Regions from separate parts of the Homo sapiens genome. Here region 2 is linked to region 1. Evidence: promoter capture Hi-C in 16 types of primary human blood cells and fetal thymus (Javierre and others, 2016). All regions are on one chromosome and are shown on one strand. Each heading gives the region's core, a stretch centred on a gene start or on the middle of the fragment in contact. The rest is flanking DNA. Distances are from core to core; before and after follow the strand shown.

Evidence for each region. The method cuts DNA at HindIII sites, captures the fragments that hold promoters and counts their contacts. A CHiCAGO score of 5 or more calls a contact.
Region 2: a contact is called between a fragment that was not itself captured here and the fragment with the promoter of PHACTR4 in region 1, in 1 of 17 cell types (M1 macrophages). The highest score is 6.3, in M1 macrophages.

What each region holds. Positions count from the first base shown.
Region 1 is chr1:28,367,058-28,373,926 of GRCh38, forward strand. PHACTR4 (phosphatase and actin regulator 4) reads left to right here and starts at 2,683. Exons shown (of 14, transcript NM_001048183.3): 1 at 2,683-2,768. RefSeq lists enhancers at 1,855-2,810, 2,461-2,755 and a silencer at 2,837-3,056. The HindIII fragment of the contact is 7,867 bases long and covers 1-4,099 here.
Region 2 is chr1:28,263,681-28,270,549 of GRCh38, forward strand. SESN2 (sestrin 2) reads left to right here. Exons shown (of 10, transcript NM_031459.5): 2 at 5,503-5,568. Among named protein-coding and RNA genes, the nearest start is that of SESN2, 7.6 kb to the left of the region's middle. The HindIII fragment of the contact is 2,975 bases long and covers 2,597-5,571 here.

The DNA.
Region 1 (6,869 bases), core at 1,433-3,932:
GGACTCCCAAAGTGCTGGGATTACAGGCGTGAGCCACCGCGCCCGGTTTTATCTTTATTTTCATAACAGTCTTGACTAAAGTTTGAAATTTTGATGATATACAATTTATTCAATTTTTTTCTTTTCTTTTCTTTTCTTTTTTTTTTTTTTGAGACGGAGTCTCGCTCTGTTGCCCAGGCTGGAGTGCAGTGGCAAGATCTCGGCTCACTTGCAAGCTCTGCCTCCCGGGTTCACGCCATTCTCCTGCCTCAGCCTCCCGAGTAGCTGGGACTACAGGAGCCCGCCATCGCGCCCAGCTAATTTTTTGTATTTTTAGTAGAGATGGGGTTTCACCGTGTTAGCCAGGATGGTCTCAATCTCCTGACTTTGTGATCCACCTGCCTCGGCCTCCCAAAGTGCTAGGATTACAGGCGTGAGCCACCACGCCCGGCAATTTTTTTCTTTTTAAAATTTATTTATTTATATTTTAGAGATGGAGTCTCACTGTGTTGCCCAGGCTGGTCTTGAACCCATGGTCTCAACCAGCCCTCCAGCCTTGGCCTTCCAGAGTGCTGGAATTACAGGCATGAGTTATCATGTGTAGCCTATTAATTTAAAAAAATATATTTTTTAATTTTATTTTTGAGACTGAGTTTCCCTCTTGTAACCCAGGCTGGAGTGCAATGGTGCGATCTCGGCTCCCTGAAACCTCCGCCTCCTGGGTTCAAGCGCTTCTCCTGCCTCACCCTCCTGAGTAGCTGGGATTACAGGGGTGGGCCATCACGCCCAATAAATTTTTGTATTTTTTTTTTTTAAGACGGGATCTCGCTCTGTTGCCCAGGCTGGAGTGCAGTGGCGCGATCTCAGATCACTGCAAGCTCTGCCTCCCGGGTTCACGCCATTCTCCTGCCTCAGCCTCCCGAGTTGCTGGGACTACACGCGCCCTCCACCACGCCCGGCTAATTTTTTGTATTTTTAGTAGAGACAGGGTTTCATTGCGTTAGCCAGGATGGTCTCGATATCCTGACCTCGTGACCCGCCCGCCTCAGCCTCCCAAAGTGCTGGGATTACAAGTGTGAGCCACCGTGCCCGGCCAATTTTTGTATTTTTAGTAGAGATGTGGTTTCACCATTTTGGAGAGGCTGGTCTCGAACTCCTGACCTCAGGTGATCTACCAGCCTCAACCTCACAAAGTGCTGGGATTACAGGCGTGAGCCACCGTGCCAGGCCAATAAATATATTTTAAATATTTTTTTGAGACAAGGTCTCCCTCTGTCGTCCAGGCTGGAGTGTAGCGACACCATCACAGCTCATTGCAGCCTGGACCTCCCCAGCTCAAATAATCCTCCTATTTCAGCCTCCTGAGTACCTGGGACTACAGGCACGTTCCATCATGCCCAGCTAATTTTTAAAATTGTTTTTGTAGAGATGGGGCCTCACTCTGTTGCCCAGGCTGGCAGGCTGGTCTCAAACTCCAGGGCTCAAGGGATCCTCCCGCCTTAGCCTCCCAAAGTGCTGGGATGAGAGGTGTGAGCCACTGCACCCGGCCAATTTTTTTTTCTTCTTTTTTCTTTTTCTATTGAGACAGGGTCTTGCTCTGCTGCCCAGGCTGGAGTGCACTGGTGCGATCTCGACCCCCCAGGCTCAAGTGATCATCTCACCTCAGCCTCCCACGTAGCTGGGACTACAGGAGCTTGGCACTAGGCCCCGGATAATTTGTTTGTTTGTTTGTTTGTTTGTTTTGCGACGGAGTCTTGCTCTGTCGCCCAGGCTGGACTGCAATGGCAAGATCTCGGCTCACTGCAACCTCCGCCTCCTGGGTTCAAGCGATTCTCCTGCCTCAGCCTCCTGAGTAGCTGGGATTACAGGCATGCGCCACCGCGCCTGGCCAATTTTTTTAATTTTATGGATAGTGTATTTGAAAAGTCACATCGATTTTTCTCCTGGAATGTCCTCTAGATGTGCCGTAGCTTCAAGTTTTACATGTAGGTCTAATTTAGGTTGTGTGATACAATGGGTTTGCATTTAGAAGGGTCCTCTGGCAGCAGCAAGGAAGGTTTTCGGAGGGTGATAGCCTAGGGCCTGAAACTACTGAGACTTGGAGAGAAGTGATGGTGGCTTTCACTAGGTGATAGTAGTGAAGGATATCGAAATGAATTAAAATACTGGGGATGTAGAATGACTGGACTTAATGGCTTGAGGGAAGTGTCCAGAATGATTCCTGGGTTTCTTACGCACAACACTGAGGGTAGATAACTTGCTTGTACGTTTTTTGCACTTCAAATTGGTCCTCAATAAATAGTTTTTCCTTTGGGGAGGTTATGATTGAAATTTGGCCAGTCAGGGATACAGTTTTCTCAAACAACACTCTTGTATCAGTTCCCTTTTTGGGTACTGCCTGGAGCCCAGTATTGAACCCTGTCCTCCCAAGCCCAAAGACCTTTGCCTCCCATAGTACCAGGAAAGGTGCCCAAGTTCTTTTACACACAAGGTGCGCAGAGCGGCCAGCGCATGCCCAGAGAGGTCGTAAGGAGGACGACCGCCCGGAGAGAAAGGACGCACGCTTCCCGCCATTTTGTTCAGCTTGCCGGGCAACCGGCCCCTGCTGGGGACTACAAGTCCCGTAAGCCTCCGCGGCGGCACGTCCTACCCTACACTGTCCAGCCGGCTCCCTTTTTCCCCCTCCCCGGGGGCCAAGGGCTCCGGCTGCTGCCTGGCGGCCAACGGGCCAGGTAGGATTTCCGGGAGAGGCTGCTGTGGAGGCTGAGGAGGCGGCGGCGGAGATCTGGGTAAGTTCAGCGAGCAAGGGAAAGTGAGCAGGACGCGCTCAGTATCAGGCTGCGGCCTCCTCTCAGGCTGCGGCCCCTTTCTTGGCTCTGCGAGAGGGTCCCGGTCCGGGCAGAAGGTAACGGCCCGGGTCGCCGTCGCTTCGGGCCAGGGCGGGGCGGGGCCGCCGCCTCCCTCCTCGGCCCTCCCACAACGGTCCAACCCGGGCTTCTCCGCCTGAGGCAGGGCCCGCGCAGGCTCGCCCTCTCCGCCCCCCGAGACTTGGCTGGGCCCTTTTGTCTGGGCTGCGTTGCTCCCCCTTTGTGTCCGTGCATGGAGTCTCCGCCACGGGGGAGCCTGTTCCCCCGGTCCCCAACAGGGACTGCTCCCTGGGGATCCGGTTACAGTAACCGGATCGGGTCAAAGTACATTTTTCAAAACCGTCCTGCCTCAGACCTCTGCACCCCTGCTGGGCAGAACGGGGGCTTCGGAGCCAGGCGGAGTTTCTGTAAAAACCTGGAGGTTATTATTTAACTTTCAAACATCAGCCTGGGCGGCTTCAGGGCACGAAACTCCCGACGTTTTTCTTGGTGGAGAGATGAGATTAAGGAAAAGAAGCGACCCCTCTCTCCCACCCTCTACACCCCGGCTCCGGGAAACCGGGAAGGCATCGAATTTGCTGCGATGTCTGTGCAGCTCACATCTGTGATCGGTGGACCAAAGAACCAGTGGTGAATGGTAGAATGGCAGTTCACGCACCTCCCAAATCTCGGAGGAGAGTGACTTACAGGGCATCACTGATTGCTTGCAAAAAAAAAAAACCCTCCAGTGCTTCATTCGGACACTCAGCTCCTCGCTCCTTCCAACCTCTTCCTTTTCTTGTTCTTTTTAAAACAAACAGTGGAAGGAAAAAGTCCTTCAGTGGAAGAATTTGCTTTATAGAGGAACCAGAAACCCAGTGGCTTCTAGAAGTCACTTACTTTTTCGCCAAATTAAAGAAATGAATTTCGGGCGTGGTGGCGCGCGCCTGTAATGCCAACTATTCTGGAGGCTGAGGCAGGAGAATCGCTTGAGGCCAGAAGTTCGCGACCAGCCTGGGCAACACAGCAAGACCCCATCTTAAAAAAAAAAGGAATGAAGCCCGTTTAGAAATGAAGCCAGTTTAGGGGATGAGGTGTGGTAGATTCTTACCGGAAACCGCGGAACTGCGTGGATTGTGGATTCGATCAAATTTGGCTAGATAATGGTAACTGTGTATGTCCTCCTGTTGGAAGACTGCATTGCTAGAATCAGCTTAAGGTAAAATTTGTTTGTTTGTTTCATTTAAGAGACAAGAGTCTAGCTTGGTTGCTGAAGCTTGAGTACAGTGGAGAGCTCCTAGTTCACTGTAGCCTCGAACTTCTTGGCTTAAGCCATCCTTCCACCAGAGGCTCCCAGATGCCTGGGACTAGAGGCATGAGCCACTGTGCCCGACTATTTAATTTAATTTATTTATATTTATTTATTTATTTTGAGACAATCTCACTTTGTTACCCAGGCTGGAATGCAATGGCACGATCTTGGCTCACTGCAACCTCCACTTCCCAGGTTGAAGCGATTCTCCTGCCTCAGCCTCCTGAGTAGCTGGGATTACAGGTGTGTGCCACCATGCCCAGCTAGTTTTTGTATTTTTGGTAGAAACAAGGTTTCACCATGTTAGCCAGGCTGGCCTTGAACTCCTAACCTCAGGTGATCCACCCGCCTCGGTCTCCCAAAGTGCTGGGATTACAAGCGTGAGCCACCGTGCCTGGCCAATTTTTATGTATTTATTTTTTGAAATAGGGTCTCGCTGGGTTTCCCAGGCTGGAGTGCAGTGAGTTGAGCACTGCTCACTGCAGCCTGGACCTCCTCCTGGGCTCAAGCCTCTGCCTCCAGAGTAGCTGGGACAACAGACACAGGCCACCAGCGCAGCTAATTAAAAAAATTTTTAAAAAAATTTTTGTATTGATTGGGGTCCCACTCTGTTGCCCAGGCTGGTCTTGGACTCCTGGGCTCAAGTGATCCTCCCTCCCAAAGTGCTGGTATTAAACCTTAAGATAAAGAATACTGTATTTGTTTTTTGAGATAGAGTCTTGCTCTGTTGCTCAGGCTGTGCAGTGGCGTGATCTTGGCTCACTGCAACCTCTTCCTCCTGGTTTCAAGCGATTCTCCTGCCTCAGCCTCCCGAGTAGCTGGAATTACAGGCATGTGCCACCACTCCCGGCTAATTTTTTTTTTTTTTTTAGTAGAGATGGTGTTTCACCGTGTTGGCCAGGCTGGTCTGGAACTCCTGACCTAAAGTAATTTACCTGCCTCCGCCTCCCAAAGTGCTGGGATTACAGGTGTGAGCCACCGTGCCTGGCCAATAAAAAATTCTAAAGAAGGTCATTGCAAATAACCCTTTTGAAAAATAGGTTAATTCGTGTTTCAAGTCTCTGGGATGAGGACAGCCAGGAGGACCCCTTTACATGAATCAGGGAAGGTTACTGAAGTTAGATAGGTTAATTCCTGCCCTAGCCGAGTAGGCAAAATAAAGCCCTTCACCCTGTATTACTTTGTTTGATATCTCATAATGGAAGTGACTTACTCTTGAGAATCCTAGATTGTATTAGTAATACTGTATAGGGATGGTAGATCCTTAATGCAGTTCTTCAATTTTTAATCCAGCAGTGAGTGAGGGTCTTTTGTGTTTTCCTGGCTATAGTTTGAAGAAGCAACCACAGAATTGCTCTAGTTTTAATAATAAACTGGTTGGGCGCGGTGGCTCACACCTGTAATCCCAGCACTTTGGGAGGCTGAGGCAGGCAGATCACCTAAGGTCAGGTGTTCGAGATCAGCCTGGCCAACATGGTAAAATCCCATCTCTACTAAAAATATAAAAATTAGCCAGGTGTGGTGGTGGGCATCTGTAATCCCAGCTACTTGGGAGGCTGAGGCAGGAGAATCACTTGAACCTGGGAGGCGGAGGTTACAGCGAGCTGAGATTGCGCCACTGCACTCCAGCCTGGGCGACAGAGGGAGACTCAGTCTCAAAAAAAAAAAAAAACACAGAAATAATAAACTAAGAAACAGCAGTTACTATTGACTATTGCTTAATTGTACAAACATGACAATTTTCTCAATATTATTTATTTTTATGATTATTATTATTTTTTTGAGGCAAGGTCTTGTTCTGTCCCCCAGGTGGAGTAAAATGCTATGATCATGGCCCACTGTAGCCTCAACCTCTTGGGCTCAAATGATCCTCCCACTTCAGCCTTCTGAGTAGCTGGGACTACAGGTGCACACTACCACACTTGGCTAATTTTTTAATTTTTTTGTGGACACGAGGTCTCCCTGTGTTGCCCAGGATGGTCTTGAACTCCTGGACTCAAGCAGTCCTCCTACCTTAGCCTCCGAGAGTGCTGGGATTATAGGCGTGAGCCAGTGTGTCTAGCTATATATTTATTCATTTATTTTGTTTGTTTTAAACATAATTTTTTTTTTTGAGATGGAGTTTCACTCTTTTTGCCCAGGCTGAAGTGCAATGGCACGATCTTGGCTCACTGCAACCTCTGCCTCCCGGGTTTAAGTGATTCTTCTGCCTCAGCCTCCTGAGTAGCTGGGATTACAGGCATGTGCCAACATGCCTGGCTAATTTTGTATTTTTAGTAGAGACGGGAATTCACCATGTTGGCCAGACTGGTCTTGAACTCCTGACCTCAGATGATCCGCCCACCTCAGCCTCCCAAAGTTCTGGGATTACAGGCGTCAGCCATCACGCCTGGCCCATAATTTTATAATTTTTATAGAGACAGGTCTCGCCATGTTGCCCAGCCTGGTCTCAAATTCCTTGGCTCAGGCGATCCTCTCACCTCAGCCTCCCAAAGTGCTGGGATTACAGGCATGAGTCACCATGCCCGGCCTCCCAGTACCATTTTTTAAACAAATTAATACACATTGTGTCATTTAATCCTCACTACAGTTCTGTGAGATGGTTGTTACTCTCATTTTACAGCTGATAAAGCCTAGCCTCTAAAATGTTGAAGTGACTTGCCCAAGGTTATAGTTAACCCAGGTAGGAAATATCAGAGTAAACCATACTTCAAATCTAGTCCTCTTTCAGT
Region 2 (6,869 bases), core at 2,834-5,333, 100 kb before region 1:
GGGTTCAACTCTCCAAGGCTGGGGCTGCTTCCCAAAGCTGTTATTATGAAGTGGAATGGACCTTAGAAGCCAGGCAGCCGTGGGTTCAGATCTCAGATTGGCTACTTGTCAGCTGGTGCCTAACCTTTGAACCCTTAGTCTTGTGTGCAAAATAGAGACTCTGCCGCCGCCCCAAAACAGATGAAAATTAGATGGAACCTGTGTGCAAGTACCTGAGCTAATTTAAAAGTTAACATATAGTAAGTGCTTAAATTAGGATCCATGCCAGGCATGGTGGCTCATGCCTGTAATCCCAGCACTTTGGGAGGCTGAAGTGGGAAGATCGCTTGAGCCCAGGAGTTTGAGACCAGCCTTGGCAACACAGTGAGACCTCATCTCTATTTAAAAAAAAAAAAAAAAAAGGCCAGGCACGGTGGCTCAAACGCCCATAATCCCAGCATATTGGGAGGCCAAGGTGAGCAGGTTATGTCTCTACTAAAAATACAAAAATTAGCCGGGCTTGGTGGCGCATGCCTATACTCCCAGCTACTTAGGAGGCTGAGGCAGGAGAATTGCCTGAACTCAGGAGGCGGAGGTTGCAGTGAGCCAAGATCACGCAACTGCACTCCAGCCTGGGTGACAGAGCGAGACTCCATCTCAAAGAAAAAAAGAAAAAAAAAGAAAAAATTAGGAGCCAGGCACAGGTCTGGGGCCATTATCCTCTTTTTACAGTTTGTGTGAAGACCTTCATGTTGAATGACCACCTAAAGGGTTAACTTTAGTGTTCCTGTTGCCCCATGTGATCTGTTTAGTTGAAATTATAAAAATACCCAACACTGGTTCTCCCTCTGTCCCACACTAGCTGTTATTTTGGACAGGTGACCTGACCCCTCTGTGTTGCACTTTTCTTGTTCTGTTACGTGGAACTGGAATCATGCCTTTATCAGGTCTACTGAACCTGTACCATCCAATATGGTAACCCCTCACTACATGTGGCTATTTAAATTTAGATAAATTAAAATTAAATAAAATGAAAATTTTTTGTTGCATTTGTCACATTTCAAATGCTCAGCCACAGTGACTAGAGACTCACATTTCTTGGACAGTACAGATATAAAACATTCCATCATCGCAGAAAATTCTGTTGGACTGTGCTATGCTAGGCACTGGGGTAACAACAAAGAACTAGATTCAGTGTGTGCCCCCAAGTGTGACAGGTGCTGTGACTGGAGCTTCTCATTCTTGGTGAGTCCCAGATGCAGCAGCCTGGAGACTATTGAGACCTTGAGAAGTTTAGAGAATGGGGAATCATTTCTGCACTTGCAGAAACCTGGGTTGTATCCCAGCCCTGCTACTGCCTTCCTGCCTGAGTAGCCAGAAGTGAGTTGACCTCTCTGAGCCTTGTTCCTCATCTGTAAAATGGAAGCCCTAGTAGTAGCTTCTGCCCTAAAGTCCAGGTAGTGCATGTGAAATTAATGCTTAGCCAGTGGTAACCAGCCTTGTTATGCACCATTGTTATTACTGACTCCCCAGTCCAGGGAATTGGGCAGGGAGGGCTGACTTGGAGGGGTCATTTCTTGGCAGTGGTATGCTGCCCTGCCTGCTTCCTCTGTCAGGATCGGGGAAGCATTCAGGGTATTGGAGCCATGGATTCAAATCTACTTGGTTTTGCCTTCAGGGCTTTATACTCGCGTTCCCTCTGGCTGGAATGCTGGTCCCCCTAGTTTTTGGGGTGTGTGTTTGTTTGTTTTGAGACGGAGTTTCACTCTTGTTGCCCAGGCTGGAGTGCAATGGTGCGATCTCAGCTCACCACAACCTCCACCTCCTGGGTTCAAGCAATTCTCCTGCCTCAGCCCCCCGAGTAGCTGGGACTACAGGCATGCACCACCATGCCTGGCTAATTTTTTGTATTTTTAGTAGAGACGGGGTTTCTCCATGTTGGTCAGGCTGGTCTCGAACTCCCAACCTCTGGTGATCCGCCTGCCTCGGCCTCTCAAAGTGCTGGGATTTCAGGCGTGAGCCACTGCGCCCGGCCTGTTTGTTTTTTAAGAGAGGGTGTCCTGCTGTGTTGTCCAGACTGTTCTCAAATTCCTAGCCTCAGGTGATCCTCCACCACCAAGCCTTCCAAAGTACCGGGGTTACAGGTGTGAACCACCCCACTTAGGCCCCCTAGATCTTTACAGGCCTTGCTGTCTTCTCATCATTTAGATAACAGCTCAAAGACCACCTCCTCAATGGCTTCTCCTGTCTACTTACACTAAAATATTGCACACTCTCCCTCCCCATCATACAGTTACTGTTTATTTCACTCACTTTATAGAATCTGTGCTTTGAAATCCTGTTTATCAGATTCTGAATTATATGAAGGCCAAGGGCTTTGTCTTTTCACTGCTGTATTCTTGCTGCTTGCAATATAGCCATCAAAAATATTTGTTGAGTGAACAAATTAATTCTGTTTCCACCTAGAAAGCACTTAGCATAGTGCCTTATACTTGAGAAAGTGATCAATAAATGGTGTAAACAATGGTCCTCACCCTGGCTGTTATGCTGGGGCCCCACCCCAGATAACTAAATTAGAATTGCGGGAGGTGGGACCTTGGCATTGTTATTTTTGTAAAGCTTCTCAAAGGATTCTAATGTACCGCTTGGGTTGAGAAGCCCTTGTTTGATACAGCAAGGAGGTTAATGATACCTGACTTTTTATTAAGTGCTTATTGTTATGGAGGTATTGAGGTAAGCTACACAGTGTTATCTCATGAAATCCTCATCACTGGCCAGTGGAAGTAGTTACTGCTATCCCCATTATTTGGTAAAGAAACTGAGGCTCATAAAGCTAAGGGATAGCAGGTGGTGGAGCTGTCATTTGAGCTCATGCAATTTGTGTCAAGAGCCCCATCTTTTTTTTTTTTTTTTTTTTTGAGACAGGGTCTTGCCCTGTTGCTCAGGCTGGAATGCCGTGGTGCGATCATAGCTTGCTGTAACCTCAAACTCCTGGGCTCAGGCAGTCCTCCTGCCTCAGCCTCCTGAGTAGCTGGGACTACAGGTTGTGTGCTACCATGCCCAGCTAATTTACTGTTTGTGGAGACAGGGGTCTCACTGTGTTGCCCAGGCTGGTCTCGAATTCCTGGCCTCAAGCGATCCTCTTGCCTCAGTGTCCCAACGTGCTGGGATGAGCTGCTGCGCCAGCCAAGGGCCCCTATCTTTTAACTGCATTGTATATTGTTGTTGTTGTTGTTATTGCTGAAAGTGTTGATGGATCCAGACCGATGACTTAGAGCTCCTTCTTTTGACAATTCCTGGGTCAGATTTTGGAGTGAGTTGGGATTCCCAAGGCTATTCCTATCCTTCCCTAGCACCCCTGATGGGCCGTCTCTGCCTCCCCCAGTTTTGCTCCACCCTACCCTGCTGTGGCTTGCTATTCTGTCCTCAGGTCCCCTGAGGTGGAGGCCCAGTTTGTGGAGTCAGCAATCCTTATCTCCTATACAGAGCTGTTGGGCTTTTTCTTTGGTGAGGGGGAGGGAAGCTCCAAAGGGGAGTGCTCAGGGATTGTGTTGGTTACTACGCTGAACTTGGACCAGCCTGGCCCGGAAGTTCCCAGAAGTGTGGGCTGAAGGGGGCCTGCACGGTCAGCTCAACTCCCTTTTTGAAGGTAGCTGGGCTACTTTACCTACCAGTTTAGTAGGTAAAGAGAGTTTAGGCCTTTAACTTTCCCAGAGCCACATAGCAAGTTAGTTGCAGAATTGGTACCTATTCCAGAGACTTTGTAGTCTTCTGGAGTCCCAGAGCTCTGCCTCCTCAGTGGGCTTTTGGCCATCTGAGAAGGAAGGTTCAATTATAGTTTTTGGTTCCCGGATACCTGAGGGCTGGTACTAAGTCTGGATCTTAATGGGAAGGGGAGAACTGGGCGCCTCCTATCCCTGTCCAGTGAGAGCATGGCTCTGATTTGGGTAAACTGTAAACAAGACCAGTGCTGAGAGCCACCTCCACTCTCAGATTAACAAAATAAATTAATAAGTAGAGCATCCTTCCTGAACCCCATCTCTAGGACTAGGAGAAGCAGATGTAGTGAGTACCTGATATTAGTGGTTTCTAAAGAGGCTGCAGCATATAACAGGTCAAAACAGTTGCTCCCATCAGCCTTGTACACCCTGCTCAGATTCCCTCCGTGCCTTTCTGCTTTCTCTGTCTTCATTCACAGACTAGTATGAATGACCTGGCGCTGCTCTCCACTAAATGTGATCTGGTGTCAGGGAAACAAAACAGACAATTTGATGACAGTGTTTTTAGAAGCAAAAGCCCTGGGAATTTTGGGGTCATAGGTGAGGGCCAGAAAAAGGTTCCTAGACTATTGTGGTTTAGCTTTGCAAAAGGAGTGACCACTGGGACTGGGCCAGTTGTATCTGGAAGCCCATGGGAGGGGGAGGTAGGGTTTTAAGCCAGTTGATCGGATTTATATTCAGAAAGTTAATGTGGCTACTGGGTAGAGGATGGATAGGAGAGGCCAGGGCTAAGGAGGCCGGGGGACAACTGGCGAGGTTGTGAGTAGTGGTCCAGACAAGAGGGGGTGGTAGTTAATGAGGTGGTGGTGGTGGGAGGACAGATAAGCAGCCAGGCATGGTGACTCCCATCTGTAATCCCAGTGCTTTGGGAGGCCAAGGCAGGAGGATCCATTGAGCCCAGCAGTTTGAGGCTATAGTGAGCTATGACTGCACCACTAAAGAAGAGGCCAGGCGTGGTGGCTCATTCCAGTAATCCCAGCACTTTGGGAGGCTGAGGTGGGCGGATCACCTGAGGTTGGGGATTCGAGACCAGCCTGGCCAACATGGAGAAACCCAGTTTCTACTAAAAATATAAAATTAGGTGAGCGTGGTTGTGCATGCCTGTAATCCCAGCTACTCGGGAGGCTGAGGCAGGAGAATCGCTTGAACCCAGGAGGCAGAGGTTGCAATGAGCTGAGATCGCACCATTGCACTCCAGCCTGGGCAACAAGAGCGATACTCCGTCTCAAAAAAAAAAAGAAGCAAAAGAAGGAAGGAGAAGGAAGGAAGGAAGGAAGAAGGAGGAGGAGGAGGAAGAAAGGAAGGAAGGAAGGAACGAACGAACATGTGAGAGAAATTGAAGCTGCTTCTGAAGCATCTGGGGTACTTGGTTACCTGGCTTCAGGGTGCAAACTGTGGTGTGTTCTTGTATAAGTTCTCTGGGACCACTAAGAAGGTGGCCTCCTGGAGATGTGCAGCATGATGGCTATATAGTTCCTTTTCCAGGACCCTCCCATCCCGCAATGCTGGGATTCTTGGGTCCCAACCCAGTTCCTGAAGAACTCAGCCTGGAGTGAGCCCTCTTTCTTGATTACCCTTCCAAACATGTGTATATCTCCCATCTGGCTCCACCATCCAAAGTATGCTAGAAAGGTGGGTTTAACACTTCAGTGTAGCCCCTTGGATAGGAGGAAGAGGCTGGATAGGTAATAATCCTCTTTATTCTCCCTTCTACTACGGACTAACCTCATATGTTTCCTCCCAGGAGCAGAGGGAGAGCCGGGCTCGGCGAGGCCCTCGAGGGCCCAGCGCCTTCATCCCCGTGGAGGAGGTAAGCTTGGAAGGGGTTAGGGATCTTTGGTCCCTGGGAAGAAAGGACATGGCATATTGGTAGGCAGGCATCTTTTCCTGTTCTTTAAATTGCAGCTTTTAAGCTATTCCTTTCTGATTTCTGATTCATTTAATTCACAAAACGGCTTTGTGAAGCAGGCACTGTCAACTCCATTTTACTGGGAAGAAACAGGCTCAAAGAAATCAAGTGCTAATAGCCAGGTAGTGGCCAAACTTTTTTTTTTTTTCATGCTCAAACTTTTGATTCCTAGATCAGTGCCTGCTTTCCCTTAAGAAGATAGAACTATCTATCTCATCCATGACCATACATATATTACACGCTCTTTTCTGTTTTAAAAGTAATATATGTTTATTATTTTAAAAATTTCCATTGTTTCAGAAAGCTCTGATCTCCTGTATCCTCCTGCACCCTGCAGAGATCATCACTGTTAACCATTTGCCACTGTTTACTGTGCTTTTTTCAAGCCAATACTTACTTTCAGTACAGAACCAAGGTCATAGTTTACAACGTGTTTTTTTGTTTTGTTTTTCACTTAATACAAGAAAGACATCTTTCATCTACTGAGTCAGTTCATTCATTCATTTACTTAACATATCTATTAAATGATTAATCTATGTCAGGCACTGTTCTGGTTGCTTGGGATATAGTAGTGAACAAGACAGACAAAAATATTTGCCATTATGGAGCTTACATTCTAGTGTGTTGGGATAGTGGAGTTACCTTCAAAACATGCAGAAAAATGTAAAACTAGTTTCCTCATTTTATTTGGCCATCAGTGAACAAGGACAAATTTTTTGTTTTGCCGGCCGCAGTGGCTCACGCCTGTAATCCCAACACTTTGGGAGGCCGAGGCGGGCGGATCACGAGGTCAGGAGATCGAGACCATCCTGGCTAACACGGTGAAGCACCGTCTCTACTAAAAATACAAAAAATTAGCCAGGCGTGGTGGCGGGCGCCTGTAATCCCAGCTACTCTGGAGGCTGAGGCAGGAGAATGGCATGAACCCGGGAGGCGGAGCTTGCAGTGAGCCGAGATCGCGCCACTGCACTCCAGCTTGCGTGACAGAGTGAGACTCCGTCTCAAAAAAAAAAAAAAAAATTTGTTTCCTCTCTTTGCTTTTCCTAAATGTGTAGGGCGAGTGGTTAAGGAGCTAACAAACATTTACCCTCCTTCTAAACCCCTTGTTCCTCTACTCCTTTGTAAATATAAGGCGAACAACCACTTGCCGATTATTTATGTCTGTGACCCAGAATTCTAAGCTCAAGTATTGCTCTTGTCTT